2 separate regions of the Homo sapiens genome follow, and region 2 is linked to region 1. The links are contacts of gene promoters, found by promoter capture Hi-C in blood cells and fetal thymus (Javierre and others, 2016). All regions are on one chromosome and are shown on one strand. Each heading gives the region's core, a stretch centred on a gene start or on the middle of the fragment in contact. The rest is flanking DNA. Distances are from core to core; before and after follow the strand shown.

Region 1 (7,618 bases), core at 2,798-5,297:
TGATCTAGCACTGAAGTCATGTCATTTTACTTCTACCACTTTCTATTGGTGATAGGGTCCAAGGGACTGGGAATTAGACTCTACCTCTAGAAAGGATAGTGAAGGTGCTAGAAAAGTAAGTCAAATGGAAGATATTGTTGCAGCCATCTTTAGAAAAATACAATCTGTCACAGGTGATGACCCCTGGCAATTTTTTTTTTGAGACAGGATCTTGCTGTGCTGCCCAGGGTGGAGTGCAGTGGTGTGATCCCAGCTCACTGCAGCCCTGACCTCCCAGGCTCAAGCAATCCTCCCGCCTCAGCCTCCCAACGTGCTGGGATTACAGGTGTGAGCCACCTCGCCTAGCTATGTGCTCATAACAAATTAAACTTGTTTTGGATTAAACTCCTTACCCTCCTCCCATCCTCAAATGATCTATTATTCTCAACTTCTGTTTCTATCAGTGGTGTACTACGGCTAAAACTTTATTATCCCTGACAAAAGCATGCATCAGTCTACGTTGTAATTTAATACCACTATTTAGTGAAACACTGGAAAGACAGAGTTACTAAAAGGAGAAAAGGAAAGCACCCTTCCTGAAGAGTAGATAATCAAGAATCGATTGGGTTTTATTGGTGTTTGTTGAGCATTTACTGTGTGTCAGGGCAATACCAGCTGCAGAGGTTGCTGGATGGAATAATGCAGCACTCACAATGGTTAAAAGCTGGGATTTTCTCCAGCTTTTTTTTTTTTTTTTTTTTTTGAGACAGGGTCTCACTCTATCACCCAGGCTGGAGTGCAGTGGCACACAATCTCAGTTCACTGTAACCTCTGCTTCCCAGGCTCGAGTGATCCTCCCACCTCAGCCTCCCAAGTAGCTGGAACTACAGTTCTACATTATCATGCTCAGCTACTTTTTTTTGTATTTTTAGTAGAGATGGGGTTTCACCATGTTGGCCAGGCTGGTCTTGAACTCCTGAACTCAGGTGATCTGACTGCCTCAGCCTCCCAAAGTGCTGGTATTACAGGCGTGAGCCATCGTGCCTGGCCACTTGTATATATTTGTCTCAAGTTGCAGAACTGTGCACTAAAAGTGCTAAATTTTATTGTGTGCAAATTATATCTTAATTTAAAAAATATATGTATAGGCAATGTACAGGTGGCATGGCATCAGAGAGGTGGCATGACAAGTTGGTTAGGGACATGGGTTCTACAATTTGCCAGCCTGGGCTTGGAAATCCTGGTTGAGATTTGGATATGGTAAGCACTTCTCTCAGAAGCCTGGTTGGATTGCTCCATAGCGCTCTTACTAGGATCACATGAGACAGTGCAAGGAAAGTTTTTAATGGGGTGGTCAGTACATAACAAGTATTAGTATTACTTTTTTCCTTAAAAATAACAGCTCAAGGGGTAAATTCTTTGGTCTAATGGAGGCACAGAGGCAGTAACACATGGACTGGCAGGAGTTGCAGGTTGGGGAGAAGTGGGTAAGTGTTGGGAACGGCATTGCAGCAGGATGGAACAGCATGTGCAAAGGCTAAAACATAATGTCATGTTTACGAATCTTTTAACATGGGCCTATCTGGAGCACTTAGTTCAGGGGGAAGATCAAGGAGAAGAGAACAACATGGATGATGGGTAGAGTTCTTTTTGATTGTTTGTTTTAGATACAGGGTCTTGCTCTTTTGCCCAGGCTGGAGTGCAGTGGCATGATCATAGCTCATTGTAGCTTTGTATTCCTGGGCTGGTGATCCTCAGCCTCCCAAGTAGCTAGGACTGCAGGTGCACGCCACCACGCCTGGCTAATTATTATGTATTTATTTTTTTTTAGAAATGGGATCTCTCTATGTTTTCCCAAGCTATGGGGGTAGAATTCTGCAGAATGGGACTGTGAAGGGCTCCTTTGAGTTTCTGTATTTCTAACAAGTCTCCACGTGATGTTGATGCTACTGTACCACTTTGAGCGGTAAGGGTATAAAAGTCAAGGGAAGAAAGTGTTTCAGAAGGCCGGGAGCGGTGGCTCATGTCTGTAATCCCAGCACTTTGGGAGGCCGAGGTGGGCGGATCACCTGAGGTCGGGAGTTCAAGACCAGCCTGATCAATATGGAGAAACCCCGTCTCTACTAAAAATACAAAATTAGCCGGGCGTGGTGGCATATGCCTGTAATCTCAGTTACTTGGGAGGGTGAGGCAGGAGAATCGCTTGAACCTGGGAGGCGGAGGTTGCGGTGAGCGGAGATCACGCCATTGCACTCCAGCCTGGGCAACAAGAGCGAAACTGTCTCAAAAATAAATAAATAAATAAATAAAGTGTTTCAGAAAGTAGGAAGAGGCCAATCATATTGAAGACAGGGAAACACGAAGTCAAGATGAGGACTGAAAGACTCCAGTTATCAACCTGTAGGATGGGGTGTTCTTAGGGCAAGCAATAGGCAGATAGGAAAGGACAGAAGCCACATCGGTGTGGTTGATGATTGCATGCCAGGTGTGGAAATGGAGAAAGTGCATATAAACAATTCTTTGGTGCAGCTTGGCTTTGAAAGGGAACAGGGTCGCAGGAGGGAGAATTGGTGTTTTTGATTGTTTGTTTGTTTATTTGTTTTTTTCGAGACGGATTTTCACTCTTGTTGCCCAGGCTGGCGTGCAGTGGCGCGATCTTGGCTCACCGCAATCTCAGCATCCCGGGTTCAAGCGATTCTCCTGCCTCAGCTACCCAAGTAGCTGGGATTACAGGCATGCGCCACCACGCTCGGCTAATTTTGTATTTTTAGTAGAGACGGGGTTTCTCCATGTTGGTCAGGCTGGTCTCAAACTCCCAACCTCAGGTGATCCGCCGCCTCGGCCTCCCAAAGTGCTGGGATTACAGGCGTGAGCCACTGCCCGGCCGAGAATTGGAGGTTTTTGTTTTTGTTTTAGACGGAGTCTTGCTCTGTCGCCAGGCTGGAGTGCAGTGGCGCGATATCGGCTCACTGCAACGTCTGCCTCCCCAGTTCAAGCGATTCTCCTGCCTCAGCCTCCCGACTAGCTGCGACTGCAGGTGCGTGCCACCACGCCCGGCTACATTTTTTTTTGTATTTTTAGTAGAGACGGGATTTCACCGTGTTAGCCAGGATGGTCTGGTCTCGATCTCCTGACCTCGTGATCCGCCCACCTCCGCCTCCCAAAGTGCTGAGATTACAGGTGTGAGCCACTGCGCCCGGCATGAGAATTGGAGTTTTTAACATTCCATTTTAAGATGGGAGACACAAGTAATCTTTAAAGCTGACAGGAAGGATCCTGTAGGAAGGAAGAAGTTGGAGACACAGGCAAGAATGGGATGCCTAAGGATAGAGTTGCTAGATTTAGCAAACACAGGACGCCCAATTAAATTTGAATTTCAGAAAAACAACGAACAATTTTTCAGTGTGTGCCCCAAATATTGCTGGGTGTCTTGTATTTTATCTGTCAATTCCAAAATAGTTCATCTCTAGGTAAAAGGGTTATAGCCCCAGATGTCCTAGGAAGGAATCAGAGCTCTCAAGTCCTTTCCAGCTGTCCCAGTACAACACTCTGAAATGAATTCCCAGTTCTACCAGAACTGTTAACAAGTAGAGAAACTGCTTTGAATTTCAGCTTTTGCGGCTTTCCCATTCGCTCTAGGATGGCAACTGCGAAGAAAAATGCCGGACTAAAAGCTGTGGAAAAGTTCTAATTTGGAAAACCAGCCCGCAAGTGATGCAGAGGCTTTTGAACTGCAAAAGAGCTCTGGGCGTACAGGACAGTGAGTCACACGGTGCCTGGTCCGGGCCCAACCCTGGACACCAACACCACTCAACTCAAGGGCAGGTACCCGGCTGCTGCCAAGGGGTCAGCGGGAGCCTGCGCACTGCCACGGCCCCGCCCTCTTCCAACCTTTCATCCGGGTCTCGGGCAGGGGCGTGTCTGGGCAGAGGGGCGGGTGGTGGCGGAAAGGAAGGATGTCGTGGGAGACTGGAGAGTGGGGAGGGAAGCGGGAAGGGGCGGGGGCGGAGCAGGGGGCGTGGCGGAGCGGGAGCGCGGTCACGTGACGTGCGTGGCGACGTGTCGGCCATCTTGTGTTGTTGAGGCTGAGGACTGACTGGGGTTCTGAGACTCCCTGTCCCGGACCGCAGGTAACCAGCCGTTCCGTGTCGCTCCCCTGCCCGGCTCTGCTCCGCGCCCCGGCCCCGCCGCCGCGTCCCGGGCCGCCTGTGTCTCCGGTCCGCGTTCGCGCCCCTGCTCCTCCTGCCCGAGCTGGCCCGGCCGCATGGACACCCACAGGCCGCTCCGGCCGGCTTGGGCCGTCAGGCGACGGGACAGGTCAGGTGCAGGGCCGGAGGGAGCCTCCTCCTGGGCGAGGGGCGCTGAGGGCCCTGGCGCGTCACGGCCGCGAGGAGCCGAGAAGCCCCTAGGCCAGGGCCTCTTGGCATTGCGAGGGGAGCCGAACAAGGCAGGAGGGTTGTGGGGTGGGCAGTGTCAGGCCGGCTTGCTCGGAGCTGGAGGGCTCGCCTTCCTCTGCTTGCTTCTCCGCGCCAGACACCCGCCCAGTCTCGGGGTGGCCCGGTAACAGCTGCTGCGGCCAGACAGCTGCTCCTGCCGGCTCTCCTGTCCACACCTGGTCCCTGGGAGGTGCGCTCCTGCCTTCCCCACAGAGCATCTGGACGGAGGAGACTCCTTCCGTGGCGAGAGTACTGGGTCTGGACCAGGCCTGAGGCGAGGTGCAGCCACCATGATCGGAACCTTGGGACCGAGGCTGGGAAACTAGAGCCCATGGCAGCCTTGGGGACCCAAATGTTCACATCAGGTTGAAATGGGCATTATCCTTAAGTGTCAGTTTCCAAAAGCACTCTGAATACTTGTTTTGCGACTGAAACATAAATCAAGCGAACAGGGAATGGGGGCATGAAAGAAGCGGAGCGTATGACCGTGTTTGGGAAGCAATAACGTTGTTTTGCAGTTAATTATTTAGTACTGTGTTTTTTATTTTGTTGTTTTCGTTTTCCTGCAAGTCAAAGCACTTAAACACACGTAGTCTCTCTGTAAGAAAGGTAAGTATTCCAGTTTAACTTGCAAGAAATTGAGTATGGGGCTAGAAGCTGTGAACAGCTTCCTTTCTAGAGCTACATACATTGAATTAAGGCAGTTTTGATTCCCAATGTTGTGCCTGGGGAAGGTATTCTTTCTTTATATAGTATGTCCTTTTTAGAATCAAATGACTTCCTAGATTAGAAAAAAAAATTCTGTCATTCTTTCTGTACATTAATTTTGCTCCTTCTAATATTTGTAGCTTTGGCCTTATTTTGTCCATTTTGCCTAGAACACAAATACTTTCTCTTATTCATTGATGGTTTTACGTGTTTTACTAGTTGGTGTAGCAGTTTCTGATGTGCTCAAACTGGAATATGTACTTGGCTTTTACATCAGATGTTGACAACAGAAGAGGACACTAGAAAAGTATTTAAAAGTGGCACGTAACTGGAAAAATGTCACATGATGTTTCTTTCGAAATTTAACATCAAGGAATACACTGGTGATGGTAGTGCTTCACCAGAAAGGAGAGGGCTTCATGACTTTTTGGTACCTGACAGCATTTGAGACTCTTGAGGTTTGGGAGGGAGAAGGAACCATGTGCTTCCATTCATTTGTTTATTCATTCATACATTCATTTATTTGACAGATACCCTGTTGAGCACTTACTACACTGTTAAGTACTGGGAGCAAAACAGACCAAACAATTCCTGTCTGTATGGAATTCATTTCTAGACAGATAAATAGGTAAAATACTTGATGTAGTGGTAAGCGATGTGAAAGAAAAAAATGAGTCAGGGAGATAGAATAATAGGGGTTTGGGGAGGGGTTAATTTTAAGTGCCCTGAGAAGGCCTCATGGAGAAGCTAACACTGGAGGAAAAACCCAACAGAGGTGAAGGTGCTGTTTCTTTAGCTATACTGGGGTAAAAGTGCTCTAGGCTAGGGAGCAGCAAGAGCAAAGACCCGGAGACAAAAGCTTAGGAGCGATTCAGGAGTAGACTGGGAAAAGCATGGAGGCTAGCCTAGGCTGAGAGGCTAGGGTGAGTGGGAGACTGGTGGGAGATGTGTGTACTTACTGTTTGGTACTAAGATGAGATGGATTATTTGCTATCCTGAATTCTTTTTTCTTATCTCTTGTGATTCTTGGAAAGGGAAATCAGATTCTGGAAATTTGGGCCAGCAGCCAGCCTCCCCAACCCCCTTAACTCCCATCCCCATCCGCTAATTTGGAAAAATTTAGGATGCTCAGTATTTCAGGAAATTATAATGAATTATCTTTCTCAAAAGTAAACGTTTTAAAATGAGATTGATGATAAACTGCTTGAAAGTACTTTTCAAAAGCAATTGCTTTACAAGAAGGAGGCTCTTTGGAGATTTCAGGATATTTGAAAATGTAGGGAAATTAGAAATTTTCCTTTCACATTTAGACACATGATTAAGGAACATACCAGGAAGAAAGGTGGAAACAATGTATTAACTCAAATTATCCTTAATCTGGTTAGTAAAGAATTTTTCTTAATACTGTGCTGTCCAGCCCGGAGACTCTTCCTCTAATTCATGTGTATATCCTTCACATTTTACACGTGTAGAACTTTTTGTGCTGAGTTTTTTATTCCTCCACTTTTACCTTTCAGACTAGTTGTCTAGTCTGATACTTAATAGACATATTTTTTTGCAAAAAACATTTTCTGATTTCCTTCCAGTTTATCTCCATATTCTTTTTACTGAGCTTTCATAAATGTCCTCTTTCATTTTAGTTCAGCTGAGGAATTTTAATATTTTGGTTTTGAAATGCTTTTGCTGGTGAGATGCATATGTGAAAAACACTTTGGAGTAGGTTTGCCTCAAAATCATGAGAAGATGGAAATTACAAGGTCAGTGTGTGAATGCAACTCCTTGGCTAAAAGGGAGGCATAGTGATGGTAGTGATGAGGTAGTGTTTTAACTAATTGCCTTTCTTCCTCTTGTTTTTCTATTGTGTTTTTGAAATGACATTTCCAAATTATGTCTTTGATGTCATATCAGCTCATTTGTTTTCATGACTCTGCATTTTAATACTCCATATTGTCTCTTCTCTTTTTGTTGACCTTCACATTGGAAGATGACACTGTTGATAGTGATTGCTATCTGGGAGAACCTTTTTGGGTAAAAAGATTACTACTGTCGCTTTTATGATTGCCCTTCTGTAGGATCTTTGACTTGTGCCATTTTCAAATTTTGACTTTGTTTGCAGTTCTCCATTAGCTCCTGCTGATTAAATTTCCCATACTTTCTGTTTTATTCTATTTCTTATAGATTATAGTGGGACCAGTCTCATTAGGTTGAATCTACAGCCTATGTTGGTGTTAACCCAGGTCTCTTAGAGGCAAGTTAAATGTCCATTTTCCTTCAGTTTAAATTACCATGGCATATTGTTTGGTCATTGTTGTAACAGTCTGAACTCAAGCTTTTTTTCACTGCTTGATTCCCACTAGGGTTTTGTGGTGATAAAGTCCTATGGTTTTTGCATGGGAGAGTATTTAAGAATAAAAGGAAAAATATATAAAATGAAAAAGAAATAGAAGTTTAAAATAAGATAAAAAAGTCCTAGAGTTTCCATTCATTTTTAATAC
Region 2 (7,618 bases), core at 2,295-4,794, 650 kb after region 1:
ATTCAGATCCTCAATGAACTTTTCCAAAACTGTCCCTTGGAGAAAAATGTAGTCCAGCTATATGTTTTCAGTTCATTTATGCTTGTGTCATTAAAATGTTACTTTTTCATGGTGTGGGATTAAGATGCTTTCTGGTTCCTTTCAAGGACATTAAAAAGATAGTCACTTGAGGAGATGTCATAGTTTATGTTGGGTTGTTTTCTGGAACTTTGAGTAGACTTTATGCCTTAATTTTTTTTTTTTGAGACATAGTCTTATTCTGTCACCCAGGCTGGAGTGCAGTGGCATGATCTCGGTTCACTGCAACCTCCGCCTCCCGAGTTCAAGTGATTCTCCTGTCTCAACCTCCCAAGTAGCTGGGATTACTGGCACGCGCCAGCACGCCTGGCTAATTTTTGTATTTTTAGTAGAGATGGGTTTTCACCATGTTGGCCAGGCTGGTCTCAAACTCCTGGCCTCAGGTGATCTGCCCGCCTCAGCCCTCCAAAGTGCTGGGATTACAGGCGTGAGCCACCGTGCCCGGCCTGACTTAATTTTTTTAAATTCTTTTCCATATACAACTTTCACGTTCCAGTCATTATGGCCTTAACAGTGAACATATCACAATGTCAGGATGAAACAATGATCTTTTGTACTGTGAGATTTCTGGGAGCAAAGGTTAAGACAAATCACCCCATGGTTACAAAATTCTGATTTCTAGAGATATGAGATAGATATGAGATAGATGAGATTTCTAGAGATAAATGTCATCTCTCCTGTCTTCTCTGCCTAGTTCTCGGCTCCCTGAGTCTAGGCTGGTAGGATTCTAAGCAGAGAAAGCATAAGCTATATGTAGTTAAGCCCTGCTGGAGCCTGGGGACCAAGTAATTTGTGTGTAATAAGTGCTGTGACATGCTACCAAGTTTTTATTGTCCCCTGTCAAGGGCATCTTTACTGAATCCGAAGATGCTGATTTGATTCTTCCTTGTTGTCTACCTCTGCAAGGCTGATGGTCCCGCTTAGTGTAATTTCTTCGCTGAGCACTGTGGGCCGCAGGGTATTTCTTGCTCAGGGGATGTTTTGACAAGCTAGCCTCTCTAGGGCCCCTGTACGTAGCGACCCTCATAGACACTCCCTCCCAGTGCTGGCTTCCAGGTGGGCACCAGAGGCGAGAGTAGGGGCTCACCATCAAATCGCCGCTGTGCTCCCCAAAACTAGGTGGGCAGAAAGCTAAAAAAGTACAAAAACCATTCAAATTAATAGCAGTTAGTCTGGGGATACAACACATGTGAAAACATAACTCAACAACAACAAAATCAATATGTTAACAGAAATTGAAAACTTTGCGGCTGGGGGTTGGTCCTCAAGCTTTAATGCACACTCTAACCCTGGGGTGCTGGTGAACGTCAAGTCCCAGGTCTCAGGCCTCTGAAGCCTGACAGATGGAGGTGCCAGGGTGCACATGCTCACGGCACCCTGGCGACCCTGACCTCAATGGGGTCCCGAGGACATGGAAGGAGAAATACTTTGAAAGGCGAAGCAACTGGCTGGGCAGGGAGGCCAAGGCGGGCGGAACACTTGAGGTCAGGAGTTCGAGACCAGCCTGGCCAACACGGTGACACCCCGTCTCTACTAAAAATACAAAAATTAGCCAGGCATGGTGGTGGGTGCCTGTAATCCCAGCTACTTGGGAGGTTAAGCCAGGAGAATCACTTGAACCTGGGAGACGGAGGTTGCAGTGAGCCGAGATTGTGCCACTTCACTCCAGCCTGGGCAACAGAGCAAGATGCCATCTCAAATAAATAAATAAGAAAGGAGAAGCGACATCAGAGGGGGCAAGGCTGATCAGGGAAAGCATCCTAGAGTTGAGACTGGGGGGGTTTCATGTGAGGAGGTGAAGGCTGTGGCACATTGTAAAGGAAGCAGTGATTTAAAATGCAAGGAGAGGCCGGGCGCAGTGGCTCACGCCTGTAATCCCAGCACTTGGGAGGCTGAGGCTGGCAGATCACTTGAGGTCAGGAGTTTGAGACCAGCCTGGCCAACATAGTTGAAACCCCTTCTCTACTACAGATACAAAAATTAGCCAGGCATAATGGCGCATGCCTGTAATCCCAGCTACTTGGGAGCCTGAGACACGAGAAACTCTTGAAACCAGGAGGCAAAGGTTGCAGTGAGCAGAGATTGTGGCACTGCATTCCAGCCTGGGTGACAGAGAGAGACAGTCTCAAATAAAATAAAATAATAAAATAAAATATAAAATAAATAAAATGCAAGGAGAAAAGCTGTTCCAGTGGGAAAGGCAGGGAGGCAGGAATTACACGCAGTGATCATGAACTGCATGTATCTAGGCCTTATCTCTCAAATTGTAAAGTCACCTAAAAGGTAGACATTTTCTAGGTACAGCTATGATATAGAATTTAGACTAACAAATGTCTCTCTCTCCCTCTTCCCTGCCTCCCTTTTATTCCATGCTTACAGCTAAGGAAAGGTGAGTGAGCCTCTTGAATGTGGCCCTGATTTGTCCTATGCTCTGGGACCTTCTCCTCCAGCACAAAACCCTCTTTGAGTCTTTGCACATATCCCAAGCTCTCCTGCCGGCTCAGGAGGCACATCCGCTACTTCCCGTCTGCTCCCTAGTGCTTACGGCACGCACGCACCATTACACTGGGTGTGCTTGCTCACTCTGCGCGTGCCTTTGTTTTCTCCCATTGGTGCTAGTTAAAGGAATTTTAAACGAAGCCTTGAGGAAAATGGCGTGCCCCCATGTTCTATCATGGGGAAAACCTTGATCAGTTCCTTCGTTGCAAAAAGATCAAGGATCTTGTTTCAGTTTCAGCTTCAAAGGGCGTGCAATGATCAAAATGTTGTTTGTTTTATTTTAGTTATCAGGATGCAAATTTAGTTTTTGAGGAGTTTGCTCGCCATAATCTGAAAGATGCAGGAGAAGCTGAGGAGGGGAAGAGAGACAAGAATGACGTTGATGAGTGAAGATGTCGGCTCAGGATGCCGGAAAATGACCTGTAGTTACCAGTGCAACGAGCAAAGCCCCACAGTTTAGTCCTTTGGAGTTATGCTGCGTATGAAAGGATGAGTCTTCTTCCGAGAAATAAAGCTTGTTTGTTCTCCCCTGGGTCATGAGTTGGTTGATTTGTTGGGGAGGCTGAGTTGATGACATGACACAAGCTGCCACCATTAGGGTCCCTGGAGTGGGAGGGTTGGGGAGAGGGAGGCCAGCCTCCCACGGAAGGGCTCACCACTCCCATGAGGGAGAGAAGGCGTCTGGAAATCAATGTGCTCACCAGGTGGGGCCCTCGGTGTGTCCAGGGGCTTTCCTAGGAGTCCCAGTCTGAGCTGTTTCTCTGGAAACAGTGCCTTCCCGTCTGTCCGTCTGTCCTTCCTTCCTTCCTTCCTTTATTCCTCCCTCCCTCCCTTCCTTCCTTCGTTTCGCTCTTGTTGCCCAGGCTGGAGTGCTGTGGCGTGATCTCAGCTCACTGCAAGCTCCGCCTCCCGGGTTCACGCCATTCTCCTGCCTCGGCCTCCTGAGTAGCTGGGATTACAGGCGTGTGCCACCATGCCCGCCTAATTTTTTGTATTTTTATTAGAGACAGGGTTTCACCATGTTAGCCAGGCTGGTCTCAAACTGCTGACCTCAGGTGATCCACCCACCTTAGCCTCCCAAAGTGCTGGGATTACAGGCGTGAGCCACTGCGCCTGGCCACCAGTGTATGTTTCTAATTACCTGACCAGTCCCAACTTCCAGGCCCCTAAAGAGCCTCCTAAGTTAAATAGGGCAGAGAACATCTGTGGACAAAAATACTCTTGGTTAATGATTCAACTTTTGGGTCCAGGTGTCTGTTTGAGCTTTGGGTTGTTGGTAAAGTTCTATTCAATGCAAGAAGCAAAATCAGATTTGGTTAAATTAAGGTGGGGAGAAGGAATGTAGTGGGAGGACCCCGGTGTGATCAGAGAACTGAAGGACAAACCTGAGCTGCCACACCTGGGGTAAGCAGGAATCAGAGAAGCTTCAGGGGTCAGGGACCCACTCTCCAGGGCGGCTCTTCATGCAGCTCAGCACCATACGTTCCCAGCTCTGCGTCTCTTGGTCCCAGTGGGCAGTTATTGGGAAGGAGAATCCAACTGGCTCAGCTTTGGCTGGGAGGATCAACACCCCGTGGTCAGCGATGGCAGAGCCCAGCCCTGGAGATGGAGAGTCCCAGAAAAGGGGGTTGATTGTGAGTCACATGGGCTTACTTAGAGCGTGCTTCACTGAGACTGGGCGTGAGAGGCATAGGGGAGAGCACTCTGAGTGTCAGGGAGGAAGGTGAACTGCAGGTGGAGGAGGGATAATAGAGGTGATACCAGGGCCTTTCCTTTGTGGGGTCCCTTCCTGCCCTGAGGTACCCACCGGGCCTGCTGCTGATGGCACAGATACTGAACAGGCTCATGGCGGCCAAGGAGAGGATGGAGATGCATAGGCTCTGGTCCATCTCTGGTCCATGCTTTAAGGGAGCAGGGTAAAGGGGGGTTGGAGATTCCTCCACAGTTCAACCCACTCACAGAAGGCAGAGGGTGAGTGGGAGGGGTTCTAGATGGGGAGTACACGTGGATCAGGCTTCTGGGATGGAACATGGCGACAGAGGGCTGGCCAGGGTATGGGTTCCATACACATGAAGGTTCCCAGCATCTGGGGTTGTTCAGAAGGATTCCAGCTGTTCGGGTCCTGGAGATTGGGATTTAGATGAGGAGGCTCCACTTGGGAAGCTTGGATGGGATCCCAGACAAAGCGAGGTGTGGACCCGTGTGCTGGCTCACGCATCCTGGCATTGGGAGGAGGATTTATAATACACTAGACTACAGGTGGAAGATTGGTCCTTCAGGCTGCGAGTTAGCAGGATCAGACACAGTCCCTCGTTCTTTTTCTCTCTATGCTAAGGTAATGGTGCACGACCATTTCAACCCATGCTCCCCTCAGGGCACGCAGACAAGGGATGGCCAGGGTGGCACACTCCTCTGAGGATTCCCAAAGCTGTTCCCCATTGCACTGAGCCCTTCCCCTGTCCTCTGCCACAGCACACAGGCTGCTGTGTTTAGCTCCTGCTAGAGCTCTTGGGCTAGCCCAGGGCCTGGGATTCTGCCCTGTGGTGCCTGGTGAGAGGACCAGCCCGTTGGTTCCTGCATTGCTTGACCCCAGGACATCCTAAGTCAGGGTGGACGTTAATAAGCCCGACCTTTGGAACTACGTGGGTGAGAGAGCTGGAGGGAAGGGCTGGAAGACCAATCCCTGGAGAGCAGAGGTCAGCACAGCCCTTACCCTCCTAGTTATTTTGGTGCCAAAATGTCTCGATACGCCCTCCAGGTGCTGGCTTGTTTATGGCCTGCAGCTGGCCACGCTGGGGAGGGAGTTGGGGGAGGAAGCGAGCAGCCAGCTGCCCTGAGCAGAAAGTGGAAGCTTGGCTCAGCTCAGCCTGCACATGTGTGGGGCTGTCTACTGGCATGTAGTGTCCCTTGGTATCAGGAGGCAGGAAGTCTACGTGCAGGTTGAATGTGTGGCCCAGAGTTTTTGGGACAGATGCAGTGCAAGAAACGGGGTACAGAGCAGTTGAAGGTGCTGCATGGAGAAAGTTCTGCAACCAGCAATGAAGGGCTGGAGAAGGGGGATGGATCCCTGCTATTGATGGAGTGCCTACCTTGTGCCAAGTACTTCACATCTGACATGTAACCATTTCAGTAGTACTTATAAATCAGTAGCATCATTCATATTTCTTAGATGAGGAAATTGCGGTTCAGAAAGGTTATGTACCTTACACATAGGTCACACAGCTAGTGAGAGTCAAGGCTTGAATGCTGGTGTCCCTGAGTCTATAACTAGACCTTTGCCCACTGTATGGTGCTGAATGGAAGTAGGAGAGTTTGGTGGAGTGGGGGGAGGGAGATTAGCATTTAGGATTCAACAACAACTGCCCTTGGCCCTTGCTATTTTTTTTTTCCATTGAAATTTTCAGGCTGGGCGAGGTGGCTCATGCCTGTAATCCCAGGACTTTGGGAGGCCGAGGCGGGCGGATCATGAGGTCAGGAGTTCAAGACCAGCCTGGCCAACATGGAGAAACCCCGTTTCTACTAAAAATACAAAAAATTAGCTGGGCATAGTGACAGGTGCCTGTAATCGCAGCTACTCAGGAGGCTGAGGCAGGAGAATCGCTGGAACCCAAGAGGTGGAGGTTGTAGTGAGCCCAGACTGTGCCATTGCATTCCAGCCTGGGCAACAGAGCGAGACTCCATCTCAAAAAGAAAAAAAAAAAGAAATTTTCATTGAGAGACTTGCACATTCACATGCAGTTGTAAGGGGTAATACGGAGAGACCCCAGGAACGCTTTACCCAACTTCCTCCAGTGGCAACATCATGTAAAGCTACAGTACAATATCCCAGCGGGGTATCGACGTGGGTCCAGTCTGCTCATCTGACTGAGATCTCCACAACTGGATTTGTACTAGTGTGTGTATTCAGTTCTCTGCAATTTTGTCACATGTGTGGTTAATTCCTTTTTAGGGTGTCTGTTTTCCTACTCCTTTAACATTTAAAAAACCTTTCTTCCTTCCAGTTTCATTTCACAGGACTGAGTCGCATTTACTGATCTTTGAGGAGTAGGGCAGGTGCGGGGTGGGAGTTGGGGACATTTGGAAATGTGTATGGTGGTTTTTGGTTTTCACATGCTTGGGGACCAGAAGCTCTATGTCACATGCAGTGGAGAAATGTGCTGCTCCAAATGACAATCATGACCCTAGTTCAGGGTAAAAATTGGATGATTCCCATGTTTTCAAGTTTCCCTTTTATATTCTCCAATGTGAAGTGGTTCTTTCTGACAGGAGTTGCGCCTCTTCACTGACGTGTCACAAAGAAGAATTAGGTTGGACGTGAAGTGTGTTATTACTGCCATCTTGATATGCCCTCAAGGTGGGGTAGACTCAGGGAGCAGGCTGTCGTTAGAGATGATTCATAGTGTGACTCATTCAATAAAGAGGCACCGGAGGGAATGTGCTCTTCCAGGCCACCGCTTTGGGGGAGTTGATGTCTCAGCCCTTCCTGAGATCTCCAGGGGAACAGCGCTGTGCGCTCACCAGGAGAACAAAAAAGCTGCTTCATCATCAAAGAACATTTATGCCAGTTTTCTTTGCTTTAAGAATATAATTCTTACCAAGCCTAATCCTCTTTTTTTAAAATACACTTTTTATTTTGAGTAGTTTTAGATCTACAGAAAAGTTGCAAAGATGTTATACTGAGGTCCCCCACACCCAAAACCCCCTATTATTAACCCTTACATGAGTAGGGTACATTTGCCACACTGAGTGACTCAAATGTTGTTTCCAGTAAAATATACTTATTTCTTTCCAACTTTTATTTTAGGTCCAGGGGGTACATGTGCAGGTTTTTTACATGGGTAAATTGCATGTCATGGCGGTTTGGTGTACAGATAGATACTTTTGTCACCCAAGTAATCAGCACAATAATCCCCGATAGGTAGTTCTTCAATCCTCACCCTCCTCCTACCCGGGAATCAATATTGATGCATTATTATTAAACTAAAGCCCCATACTTAATTCTGATGTCCTCAGCTTTTACCTAATGTCCTTTTTCTGTTCT

Evidence for each region. The method cuts DNA at HindIII sites, captures the fragments that hold promoters and counts their contacts. A CHiCAGO score of 5 or more calls a contact.
Region 2: a fragment that was not itself captured here is called in contact with the fragment with the promoter of GIGYF2 in region 1 in 1 of 17 cell types (neutrophils); the score reaches 5.4 in neutrophils.

What each region holds. Positions count from the first base shown.
Region 1 is chr2:232,693,284-232,700,901 of GRCh38, forward strand. GIGYF2 (GRB10 interacting GYF protein 2) reads left to right here and starts at 4,048. Exons shown (of 29, transcript NM_001103146.3): 1 at 4,048-4,109. RefSeq lists enhancers at 3,855-4,551, 4,552-5,246 and silencers at 3,901-3,990, 4,021-4,350. The HindIII fragment of the contact is 8,556 bases long and covers 1-5,980 here.
Region 2 is chr2:233,343,946-233,351,563 of GRCh38, forward strand. SAG (S-antigen visual arrestin) reads left to right here. Exons shown (of 16, transcript NM_000541.5): 15 at 2,458-2,467; 16 at 2,862-3,110. The coding sequence ends at 2,967. Among named protein-coding and RNA genes, the nearest start is that of DGKD, 6.7 kb to the right of the region's middle. RefSeq lists an enhancer at 5,556-5,655. The HindIII fragment of the contact is 910 bases long and covers 3,090-3,999 here.